3 separate regions of the Homo sapiens genome follow, and all the other regions are linked to region 3. The links are contacts of gene promoters, found by promoter capture Hi-C in human tissues and cell types (Jung and others, 2019). All regions are on one chromosome and are shown on one strand. The core of a region is centred on a gene start or on the middle of the fragment in contact, and the rest is flanking DNA. Distances in the headings are between cores, read along the strand shown.

Region 1 (3,653 bases), core at 253-2,752, 730 kb after region 3:
CTGAACCCCCTTTGACTTTCACAAGTGTTGCAGTTTGGATGATCTATTGTATGGTCACCCTAGTTAAGATGGCCCTATAGCCTGCCATTCTACTTCATTACTTGGAAACTACCATTTTATCTCATCTGGACCAGAAACTCACTTTGTATCTTAACTAGTCTCTAAAATACAAAATAGGAGGAAAGGAGACATGGCTCTCCCCCAGCCAAGAGTCTCCAAGGACAGTCCCAGGACCTGATGTGGCCACCATCCCATGACCCTGCTATCTCTCCCTGACGTCACCAGTTTTGGGGCCACCAGCTCATCTGCTACTGCCCATACAGGCAAGCAGGTACTTGTGAGATGAAACATTGCTAAGCTCCGTCCAAGTGCACGCGCCTACTCCCACGACACACTCATGCTGATAGAACCACTGGACGTGGGCCTTCATGGAGGAAGCAATGATCAGGGGTGGGGTTACACTGTCAGAGGTGAAGGGATATTAAGAGGGAAAGAGCAAGGATGAAGACAGTCTTGCATCACCGTGACTTCCCTCTGCCCAGGAGCCATAGTGTGTTGGTAAACAGACTATCCCTTTTCTGCTCATGTGTGGCTTTACTCAAACCCATCTCACTACCAGTGATGATCAACTGCATATCTGCAAAGGTCTAAGGACCTAGCCCTGGGTGGAAGGAGGAGGAAAAGAGAAGTCCACAGCAAGTTCATGTCTGCTTGGATGTAGAGAGGTCAAAGCACATAGCCAGGTTGAGACCAAGAGCCAGCCTCTTATGAAAATAGAAAGTGGGAAAGGCTGGTTAAACATAAAGCACCTATAAAATTATATTGGTCCATTGTAACCAGGGAGCCCACACATAAACACACACAAATCCAGCCGCTCATTCCTGGCCCCTTAACTGCCTTTGTGTTTTCTATAATTAATCGGGCAAGGGCGGAACTTGGGAAAAGTCCAACTGTGGCCAGAACTCGCAGCCTTCTCGCTAGGAATAACTCACCGAACGCAGAGGGGCAGGGGGCGCGGGGCGGTGGTGGCCGGCGTCCAGTTACCTGCAGCATGTTGAGGAGCAGGCTCCGGAACTTGGTCCCCTCCACCATAAAGAGCGCCATCTTGTCGCAGAGCTTGGCAGCGGTGAAGGCGAAGCTGCGGTCGGACACAGCCTTCTGGTAGATTGTGCGCACGATCTCGCCCAGCATCTCCTCGGAGTTGGTGGAGTTCTGGGCCTCCTCCATGAAGGTGGTGAGCTTGGTGTCCACGTCGCTGCTGTTGTTCCGCATGCTGTTCAGGATCTCGATCAGCTTGTCCATCTTGTTCTGCTGGGGAGTGGTCGTCTCCACGGCCACTTCATCCTGGGGGTGTCGGAGACAAATGAATGTGCCTGAGTGAAGCCGAGGTCTCTGTGCAGGGGTGGCCTGGTGGAAAGAGGGTGGCCACCCCCAGAAAGCAGGACCAGGCCTACTTCCCTGGATCTGAGGGCTGGTCCCTCTGGGAACCTCCACCAAAGACCCCTCATGCGCCAAAAGCTCCTTGTTGCCTTTTTTCTTGGCCCCTATGACATCCAGGGCTGATACTGTTTTTGGGTTCTAGCTCCTACCCAGGATTCTCATATACATTGGCTTTTTTTGTTTATTTGTCCATCAAATATCTTAATCTAGAAAAGATTTAATGGAAATTATGAAAGAGGAAATAAGATAACAAATATGAAATCGGGCCAAAGAGAAAATGAGGGTAGGAAGACTTGGTCAGGAAGGCAGGTCAGATCCAAAATGCCTGCAGTGGTGGTTAAAAGCGGCCCAGGCAGTGGCCACCTTGTCCCCTACACCCTCAGCTCCAAATGCCCAATGATGACTTGTTCTCTGGGCATAGGGCCCCCTGTGGGCACAGCCCTGGCTTTTTGTCCTGTGGAGACTGTGCTGGTCTTCTGTAGACATATGCCACACACCAAGGAATCCTCCCATGTGCCACTAAAACAGTTGGGCTTCTAGGAGGGATATTACAAGTAAAAAGCCCTACAGCCTTATGAGATTTCACTGCAACTAGGACCAGACCAGGGGCTTGAAGAAGAAAAAAATGTCATCTTATTGTATTGACTCATTCTTGGTGGCCAAGAATGGGAACAACTTAACTGCAAGGAAGTGAGATCTGGCTGGAAGGGCAGGGTCAGGGTCATGAAATGAGATCCAAGCTTGGTCTTCTGTCCCTGACAATAGAAGCTCTGGCCTAGAAGGCACAGACCAAGGCTCTAGATCCCACTCTCTGCCTCTAGCTGTGTGGCTTTGGGTAAGTGATTTCACTCTCTGGGCCTCAGTTTCCTCATAGGTAACACAGTGAGGTTAGACGAGAAAATCTATAGCTTTCCTTGAGCCCTTCCATGGTGGGATCAAGTTCCAAGGGCAGCTAGTCTCTGGCTTGAGAACCAAACACTCAGGAGGCTGAGGCAGGAGAATGGCATGAACCCGGGAGGCGGAGCTTGCAGTGAGCCGAGATTGGGCCACTGCACTCCAGCCTGGGTGACAGAGCGAGACTCCATCTCAAAAAAAAAAAAAAAAAAAAGAAAGGGCTGAATCCTGGGTGAAGGAATAGGGTGGCCTAGTTCTTCTCCTCAAACCCAACCACCTCTTCAGGGAAGGCTACTCTGAGTCCCTGGGTAAAGTTAACAGGACACAAATCCCCACCCCAAGAGACATCTCACGCTTTACCTGTCTCTTGAAAGAGAGAAGGAAAGTGTTGCTCTCCCTGATGAAAATGTTTAGGATGTGGCTGGTTGGCCACCTAGGATTTACCCTTTTTTAGAGTGAGCAACTAGCAGAGTGGGGAGTGACCCAGCCTGAGCCTGAGCCCATGTCTTCTTGGTCCAGGAGTTCAGGAGGCCTCACCTGAGTGGAGTCCTTGAAACTGATCTATAGGTGCTATAGATCTACCTTCTCTGTTCCATTCCCCCATGTACCCCTCTCTTCCGACCATCTGGGCCCCAGGGCAGGAACAGTGGTCTGCATATAGAATAGGAATACCCACAAGAACATATCTGTACACGTTATTTCATTTAACCTTCACAGTCTCTCAGCAAGGTGTGTAGTATTAACACCCATTTTACAGATGAGTAACTGGGGCTCAGGGAGATTAGGTGACTTGCCCAAGACCACCCATCCAGTCAAAGGCAAAGTGAGGTCTGAGCCTGCTCAGCTGCGCTCTAAAGCCCGTGCTGTTTCCACTCTGCTGCCCTGCAGTTACATTTAGCAGAACTCTAGAGGACTCGGTGGAGAGGATACTGGGAGCAGCATCTCATCTTCAAGAGTGGATCCAAGAAGAGGTCTGACCTGCCTTATCCTGCCTGAGTGTGGACCCTGGGCCTGGCCTCTGGGGCAAGAGCTTGAGGAGAGTCGGCAGTAGGGGAGGATGGAGGAGAAGCCCAGAACATGGAGCTCTGCGGAAGCCCCAGGAGGAAGCCTCTGTAGGCCCTGCTGCTGTGTGGGAATGGCTGTGGGCAAGTTGGCCTTTCTTGGGACAGTTCCTCTCCAGGGTGACCTTTCCTGTGCCCCTGCTGGGCAGTGGGGTCGGGGGTGGTGGCACTGGGGTGAGCACAATGGACTTACTGCTGCAAGTACAAATCCCCATCCCTCTTCTGGAGGTTTAGGGTCATCTCCTGAAGCTACAGGCC
Region 2 (3,847 bases), core at 1,225-3,724, 580 kb after region 3:
CCTGTGCCCGCCTTCCTGGGGATTTGAGAGGCAGAGTCTGCCATGGACATGTGCCCAGGTGCCAGGGGAAGCTCTTGCTAAGCCTGGAGCTGCCTGGAGCTGCCATTTTAGTGGAAGCTTAGGGGGAGAAGGAATACAATTGTTTCTACCATAAGCCCTTATATCTTACGTAGTAGAATGCAAACTTGACCTGAATTGTTGAGAAAAAACAAGACACTTCAAGGACACGTGGTTGCCCTTGATGTTGCTTTAGGTGGTGGCCCCAGGCCCTGGCAGTTTCTCTTCTGCAGTGGGCATTTTAGTGGAAAAGTGTAAGATCAGTGGGACACAGAAGCGCTGGGGACAGAAATAGAGTGTGTATATTAGGACTGCTTTGAACCTTAAAGAAAATAGAGATGTGTCATAGACAACTGTATTGAATCCATTCTCCGCAGTGTAGACTGCCCTTTGATACACGTTCCTCTAATGATTCTGGATGGGAGCTCTGACTACCCCCATTTTAGAAGAAACTGAGGCTAAAAGAGATGAGCGACTTACACAAGTCACCCAGCCAAGAGGTGGCCGAGCAGTTTTCCTTAAGCCTAACCCAGGGCTCTTTTGTCCAAAGCCTGGTGCTCACCACTCTGTCCCATGCCCATTTCAAACTCCAGGTCTTGCACTCTGCCTGCCCAGATCCCAGCAGTAATGAGTGACCTGGGGTCGAGACATTTCATTCCCAGGGAATACTTATGCATTTCCCTCATTTCCCAGCCTCCCTTGCAGTTTGTTTGGGACCATGTGACCAGTTCTGGCCAATGGGCTGTGAGAAGTGCCATGTGTCACTTCCAAGCTAAAGCATTGAAAAATTGGTGCAGGGTGACCCAGCTCTCTCTCTCTCTCTCTCTCTCTCTCTGCCACAGGGACCTGGAAGATATGTTTTAGGATGATGGAGACAGAAGATGGAAAAGCGTTCGGATCCTGAATGGCTGCTCTGGAGAGCCCCTGGGCCCGCTGCAGACTTTGTTTGAATGTGGAACTTTTTCTTTGTGGCTGAGATTTGGAGGTTTGCCTATCCAGATGATTATGTGACCTGTGCCCCACACTCAGTCCCTTGCAGAATCTGGCTTGCTTCTTTCTTTTATGGAGGTGGGTCTTGTATCTCCAGCGTCTGGGAGCTCCTTGAGGTCAGGCACGAGCCCAGCCCTCATGCTTACTTGAATCCTTTCACAGTCACAGTACAAAGCCCAGCACTGGGCTCGTAGTAGGTGATGAGTAAATACCTGCTGTAATTGGCATGAAGTGCCTCTCCAGTGGTGCCCCATGAGGGACTGCCACCAGGTGTCCTCCAAGGGCACAGTCTCCCACCTGGTCCAGGGCTCCTCTCTGATGAAACCCTGCCCTTGCCTGCTCCTCAGCTACGTAGTCTTTGAAACGGCTCTTCACCTTCTCCTCAACCTCATCTGGTTGAGGCCAGGGGCCACTTTAACCTGGCCAAAGCCAGTACCCTCTGGGCAAGGAGAGAGAGGCTCAGAGCAGAGCTCCGGCTCCAGTGAACACATTGATTAGAGTCATCAGACCACGTTCCCAGCTCCTCTTGCCTATCCTGCTTGATTTTTCTTCATATTGGTGGTTGACATTATACTTACTGTATTATATACACATTTGCCTTTTTTTTTTTTTTTGAGACAGAGTTTTGCTCTTGTTGCCCAGGCTGGAGTGCAATGGCATGATCTCAGCTTACTGCAACCTCCGCCTCCCAGGTTCAAGTGATTCTCCTGTCTCAGCCTCCGGAGTAGCCGGGACTACAGGCGCACACCACCATGCCTGGCTAATTTTGTATTTTTAGTAGAGATGGGGTTTCACCAGGTTGGCCAGGCTGGTCTCGATCTCTTGACCTCATGATCCGCCTGCCTTGGCCTCCCAAAGTGCTGGGATTACAGGTGTGAGCCACCGTGCCTGGCCTATGTTTGACATTTTATTATATATCTGTTTGTTGGCTTGACTATTATCAGAGGCCCCTAGTAGAGTGTGAGCTCTGTGACAGCAGGGACTTTGCTCTGGTCACTGCCATAACCCCAGAATCTAGAACAATGCCCAGCACATAGAAGGGATAGAAGGCACTCAACCGATATTGGATGGATCAATGTTGAATGACTATTTAACTTTTCAACTAAAATATATGAATTTAAGTTCCAGGTGAATTCCTTTTTTTTATCTTTTTTCTTTTTTTTTAGAGACAGGGTCTCTGTTGCTCAGGCTGTAGTGCAGTGGCATGATCATAGCCTTGAACTCCTGGGCTCAAATGATCTTCCTGCCCTCAGCCTCCCAAATAGCTGGAACTAAAGGTGAGCACCACCCTGCCTGGCTAATTTTTTAATTTTTTTGTTGAGACGGAGACTCGCTACATTGCCCAGGCTGGTTTCCAACTGCTGGTCTCTAGTGATCCTCCTGCCTTGCTGGGATTATAGGAATGAGCCACTGTGCTCAGCCAAATTCCCTTTTCCCCAAGAAAAGTGGGTATGGGACCAGGTGCAGTGGCTCACGCCTGTAATCCTAGCACTTTGGGAAGCCGAGGTGGGCGGCTTGCCTGAGCTCAGGAGTTTGAAACCAGCCTAGGCAACATGGTGAAACCCAGCCTCTATTAAAAATTAGCTGGTGTGCACCTGTAGTCCCAAATACTCGGGAAGCTGAGGCAGGAGAATTGCTTGAACCTGGGAGGCAGAGGCTTCAGTGAGCGAGATTGCACCACTGCACTCCAGCTTAGGGGACAGAGCGAGACTCCATCTCCAAAAAAAAAAAAGAAAAGAAAAGTGGGTATGTACTTACTTTATAACACTAGTGAAAATAAAAAGCACATTATTATATTCTTTTCTCCCAAAAGGTGAATGCAAAACTTTACCTCTTAGGGTGGTGGTAATAGCGACAACTACACCCACAATAATAATAACAAAAACCTGCGTTTACTTAGGGCTAAGTATGTGCCAGGCACTCTCTGCAAGGTACTTTTTTTTTTTGTTTTTTTTTTTGAGACAGTTTCACTCTTGTCACCCAGGCTGAAGTACAGTGGCATGATGGCATGATCTCTGCTCACTGCAACCTCCGCCTCCCAGACTCAAGCAATTCTCGTGCCTCAGCCTCCCGAGTAGCTGGGATTACAGGCGTGAGCCACCGCGCCTGGCCTACGTTGTGTTGTCTTTAAGGTAAGCGCTCTCATTAGCTCATTTTACAGGTGAAGACTTGCAGGCCCAGCGAGAGACTCACAGCAAAAGCGTGGTAGAACCGAAGCCCAGGTCTGCCTAACTCCACAGCCCTTGCTCTGAGCCCTGGGTCTCCAGGGGAGCCTAGAGACACCAGCAGCCTTGAAAGAGTAGTTTTCCCAGCTTCTGTTCCTTAAGGTCGAGACAGAAACACGCTAAGGCCTGATCCCACTGAGGCAGCTCGAGACTCTGGGGGTCTCTCTGCAGGAAGGGCTTGCTCCTTGGCCAAGCTGTCCTGTCCCAACCGGGGCTGTAATGTTCACTGTGTATGGGCGTCGTGTCATCAGCACCAAATCTTCTAATGACACACTGCAGCCAGGGAAATTACAGTGCCCGGGAGACTTGTCCCAGAGGCCCTGCCCGAGGTAATTCCAGAGCAGGAGCGCATGCTGGGAAATAACAAGAATGACAGAGTCTGGCTGCCAGCCTTAGATAATGGAATGGTGAGTGATTTTATTTTACTTATACAGATCTTTTTCTTGAATTTTAAAAATATTGAAAAATGGTATCAAAAGTAAAAATTAGCGCTAACCTCATCATTTAAATTATGCCCTCCAACTTCACTCCCCAGAGGTGAGCATGCTGGAGACTCAGATATGTCCCCTTTCTGA
Region 3 (3,914 bases), core at 247-2,746:
CTTTTTACATCTAATGAACTTAAGTTCTGTTGATTTCTACCATTTAAGTATTTTTCCCCCTTAGTCCTTAACGACTAGGTTTCCTGCCTCCAGAATAAGCTGAAGTCCTCCAAGATGTACTGTGGTTTTCTCTAAGAAACTTAACACATTTTTCTTTCCCCAGATATCCCAGAAGAAACTGAAGAAACAAAAACTTATGGCACGGGAGTAAATTCAGCATTAAAATAAATGTAATTAAAAGGAAAAGAATGTTGGTTGTCTTTATTAGTGAACATATTTCAAGTGTCCTTACAAGATGGATCAAATGAGGATTTTTTAGGATTAGAACTAGAAACACAAGATTGTTTACCCTGCACCATTAAAAACCATTTTCATGGCTGGGCACAGTGGCTCATTTCTGTAGTCCCAGCACTTTGGGAGGTGGAGGCTGACTGCTTAAGCCCAGCCAGGGCAACATGTCAGAACCCTGTCTGTTAAAAAAAAGTAAGTGTGGTGTCACTTGCATGTAGTCCCAGCTAATTGGGGGGCTGAGGTGGGAGGCTGCAGTGAGCACTACTGCACCCCAGCGTGGGCAAGACAGAACAAGACCCTGTCTCAAAAAAAGTTTCATTATCCCAAAAGGAATTTGCAGTGGTTTTCTTTGCAGAACAATCCAGTATGTGAATATACCAGTTGATCATCCCCAGTTGGAAATGGCTCCATTGAGCATTGCCTTTGAGTATGATAACAGCACTCAGGCTCAGGTTTTGAAGCTTTTTAGGTTGATGCTCAACCTGTATCATTTCGTCAATTGATAAAGGGGTTTTGTTTTTGCTATTAGGAACGATGGTACTGTGAACGTTTGTGTGCAGATTTTTGTGTTTTCATTTATTGAGTATATACTAGAGTGGAATTGCTAGATCATAAGGTTACCTGAGTAAACATCTGAGGAACTTCCAAATATTTCCAAAAAGGCTGCACGCTACATTTCCACCAACGGTTTATGAGGGTCCCAGTTTTCACACAACTTCGCCAACACGTACTGACATCCTAGCGAGCGTCAGTACTTTTCGTTTATAAAGTGATGTAACTGCTTCTTTTAAGCAACTGACGTTTGTAAAGTTGGCCTTAATGTTAGTTTGCTCTGCCCTTGAATTTAAGAAACCAGCAAAACTAATAGCTTATCCACAGTTGCCTCAACGGCCTAGCTGCCACCTTCCGTGTGGGTGCCGCGCCGTTTGCACAGGCATCATCCTTTACCGAGATCCTGCGTTCTGGGTCTGGGTGTAGTCAGGTCAGGCTTTCTTCCCGCAGCGAAGCTTTTAGTTGGGCATCTGGGACGCGCAGGACTTTCGCGCTACCTGCAGGCCGCAGAGCCGGAAGCCTCGCCGCGCCCCTTGGGCAACACTGCTGCGTGCTGTGCGACCCCGGGTTGACGCAAGCGCGCCTTTGTCGTCCCCGTTGAAGGCGCCCATTGGCTCGGCTGCGGATCGTCCCTCCCTCCGGAAGTGCGGACATTGTCAGCTGCGTTTCCGCGGTCGCGGGTGAGTGTGCCCGGGCTAGCGGCCTGGGTTGGGCTTTGTAGCTGCTCCGCAGGCCCAGCCCGGGCCGCGCTCGCAGAGTCCTAGGCGGTGCGCGGCCTCCTGCCTCCTCCCTCCTCGGCGGTCGCGGCCCGCCGGCCTCCGCGGTGCCTGCCTTCGCTCTCAGGGTACCTTCCTTCCGCGAGCGCGCTCCTCCGCCCTCCGCCCCGCCCTCCCCTCCCCTCTGTCTGTATTCTTTGTCCACCACCGGCGCCCTCGGAGCTTGCATTTGCCTCTCCGATACTTTATATTGATTTTGTTCTTTTCCGTGGCCAAGTATCGGTTTCACATCCTTTCTATGACCTTCACCGTTAGGCCTCTGTTCTCGTCTCTTTTCAATCATTGTCATTGACTCAACCTGTCCCCGCTCCCTCTGTCTCCACTAAGATGACATGCTCAACTGGATGACTTGGAGGAAGGTGACTTTCCCTGTTATGCCTTCCCTATTTCGGATGGAGCCTCAGACTTTAACTGTCTACTCTGTTGTCTGGACTTAAGTTGAGTGAAAGAAGATTCCTCTGCAACAGCTTTAATCCGTTTTGCTCGCTTTGTTGGCTTGGAGCGAATAATTAAAATAATAATATCTCGTAGCCACCTTCTAGACTTTTCTGACCCAGTTTCCATATGTGTGAAGTAAAATATCTTACCGAAGTATTATTATGAAGATTAAAAGATAAGATACAAATAGGCTTCATTCCGAAGAGAGCTAAAAAGTCTCTTAAAAGCCGTAATTGTGGCGTAAGTGATTAGTAGTATTTGTCCTCGAGAGTTTATGTACATCGTACTGTGTGCGAACTTACTTAAAACACAATTGCAGAAGTAAAAATGAATCTTTATGATGGAGGGCCTGTCAGTCACTAAACTAGTACTGGTAGCATTGTCAGTTGTTTTGAAGGGGTTTCGTTGGTTTGGAAAGTTTGGTAAAAGTTTGGTAAAAACATGACCATTGTGTTTTTGGAAGAGGAAAAGGCAAGAGCATTGAGGAAAACCAGAACTGGAAATAATGGTCTTAGAAGCTCTAGTTACCAGTTACCTCTGTGAGAACTTTGGACAGGTTACAACTTTTGGATTTTTTTTTTTTTTTAATCTTGAGACAGGGTCTGCCTCTGTGGCCCAGGCTGGAGTCCAGTGGGCCATCATAGCTCACGGCAGTTTCGGCTTTCCTGGGCGCAAGCGGTTCTCTCCTTCCTCAGCTCCCCAAATACCTGGGACTACAGGCGCGTGCCATCACACCTTGCTAATTATTTAAAAAAAAAAATTAGGCCAGGTTCCAGTAATCCCAGCACTTTGGGAGGCCTAGGCGGGAGGATCATTTGAGCTTAGGACTTTAAGATCAGCATGGGCAACACAGTGAGACCTCATCTCTACTAAGAATTAAAAAATCTGTCGGGCATCGTGGCGCAGGGCTGTGGTCCTACCTACTCAGGAGGCTGAGGAAGGGGGATAGCTTGATTCTGGGAAGTCAAGGCTGCAGTGAACTCTGAACACAGGTGGTATGTTTGAGCCACTGCACTTTAGCCTGAGCAACAGAGCAAGACCCTGTCTCAAAAAAAAAAAAATCACTATTGCCCCAGCAATTGATTTTATTTTATTTTATTTTTATTTTTTTTTTTTCTGACACGGAGTTTTGCTCTTGTCACGCAGGCTGGAGTGCAATGGCGCAATCTCAGCTCACTGCGACTTCCGCCTCCCAGGTTCAAGCAATTCTCCTGCCTCAGCCTCCCCAGTAGCTGGGATTACAGGTGCCCACCACCACGCCCAGCTAATTTTTGTATTTTTAGTAGAGACAGGGTTTTGCCATGTTGGCCAGGCTGGTTTCGAACTCCTTACCTAAGATGATCCACCCCCTCGGCCTCCCAAGGTGCTTGGATTACAGGCGTGAGCCACCGCGCCCAGCCTCAATTTACATTTTTGTTTATAGCTCTTGCTTGTAATTCATTTCAAAGACATTCAGATTTGATTCTCTATGCCACCGTTTACCTGTATTGTGAATAATTTTTAAATGTCTAAGCATAGTGATGGTGCTGACTCAGTTGCCAGCAGATGCTACTTAATTTGCAGTATTTTGAAAATAAGAAATCTTTTTTTTGAGACGGAGTTTTGCTCTGTCACCCAGGCTGGAATGCAGTGGCATGATCTTGGCTCACCGCAACCTCTACCTCCCGGGTTCAAGCAATTCTTCCCCCTCAGCCTCCCGAGTAGCTGGGATTACAGGCCTGCTCCACCATGGCTGGCTAATTTTGTGTTTTTAGTAGAGACGGGGTTTCACCATGTTGGTTAGGCTGGTCTCGAACTCCTGACCTCAGGTGATCTGCCCGCCTTGGCCTCCCAAAGTGCTGGGATTACAGGTGTGAG

What was found. Contacts are between HindIII fragments. The study calls those that stand out against the background at their distance.
Region 1: a contact is called between a fragment that was not itself captured here and the fragment with the promoter of C18orf32 in region 3, in 2 of the 25 tissues and cell types used here (dorsolateral prefrontal cortex and lymphoblastoid cells).
Region 2: a contact is called between a fragment that was not itself captured here and the fragment with the promoter of C18orf32 in region 3, in 1 of the 25 tissues and cell types used here (dorsolateral prefrontal cortex).

Annotation. Positions count from the first base shown.
Region 1 is chr18:48,759,081-48,762,733 of GRCh38, reverse strand. It overlaps CTIF (cap binding complex dependent translation initiation factor), which reads right to left. Exons shown (of 12, transcript NM_014772.3): 9 at 1,045-1,344. It overlaps LOC107985147 (a long non-coding RNA gene), which reads right to left and starts at 1,038. Exons shown (of 2, transcript XR_001753444.2): 1 at 1-1,038. The HindIII fragment of the contact is 7,353 bases long and covers 1-3,653 here.
Region 2 is chr18:48,910,836-48,914,682 of GRCh38, reverse strand. LOC124904355 (a long non-coding RNA gene) reads left to right here and starts at 24. Exons shown (of 3, transcript XR_007066464.1): 1 at 24-1,125; 2 at 3,032-3,179. The HindIII fragment of the contact is 9,089 bases long and covers 1-3,847 here.
Region 3 is chr18:49,484,816-49,488,729 of GRCh38, reverse strand. C18orf32 (chromosome 18 open reading frame 32) reads left to right here and starts at 1,496. Exons shown (of 3, transcript NM_001035005.4): 1 at 1,496-1,687. All of the region lies in intron 5 of RPL17-C18orf32 (RPL17-C18orf32 readthrough), which reads left to right. It overlaps RPL17 (ribosomal protein L17), which reads left to right. Exons shown (of 7, transcript NM_001035006.5): 7 at 164-249. The coding sequence ends at 211. It overlaps MIR1539 (microRNA 1539), which reads right to left and starts at 1,357; the gene lies at 1,308-1,357. RefSeq lists an enhancer at 1,438-1,597 and a silencer at 1,638-1,767. The HindIII fragment of the contact is 6,566 bases long and covers 1,026-3,914 here.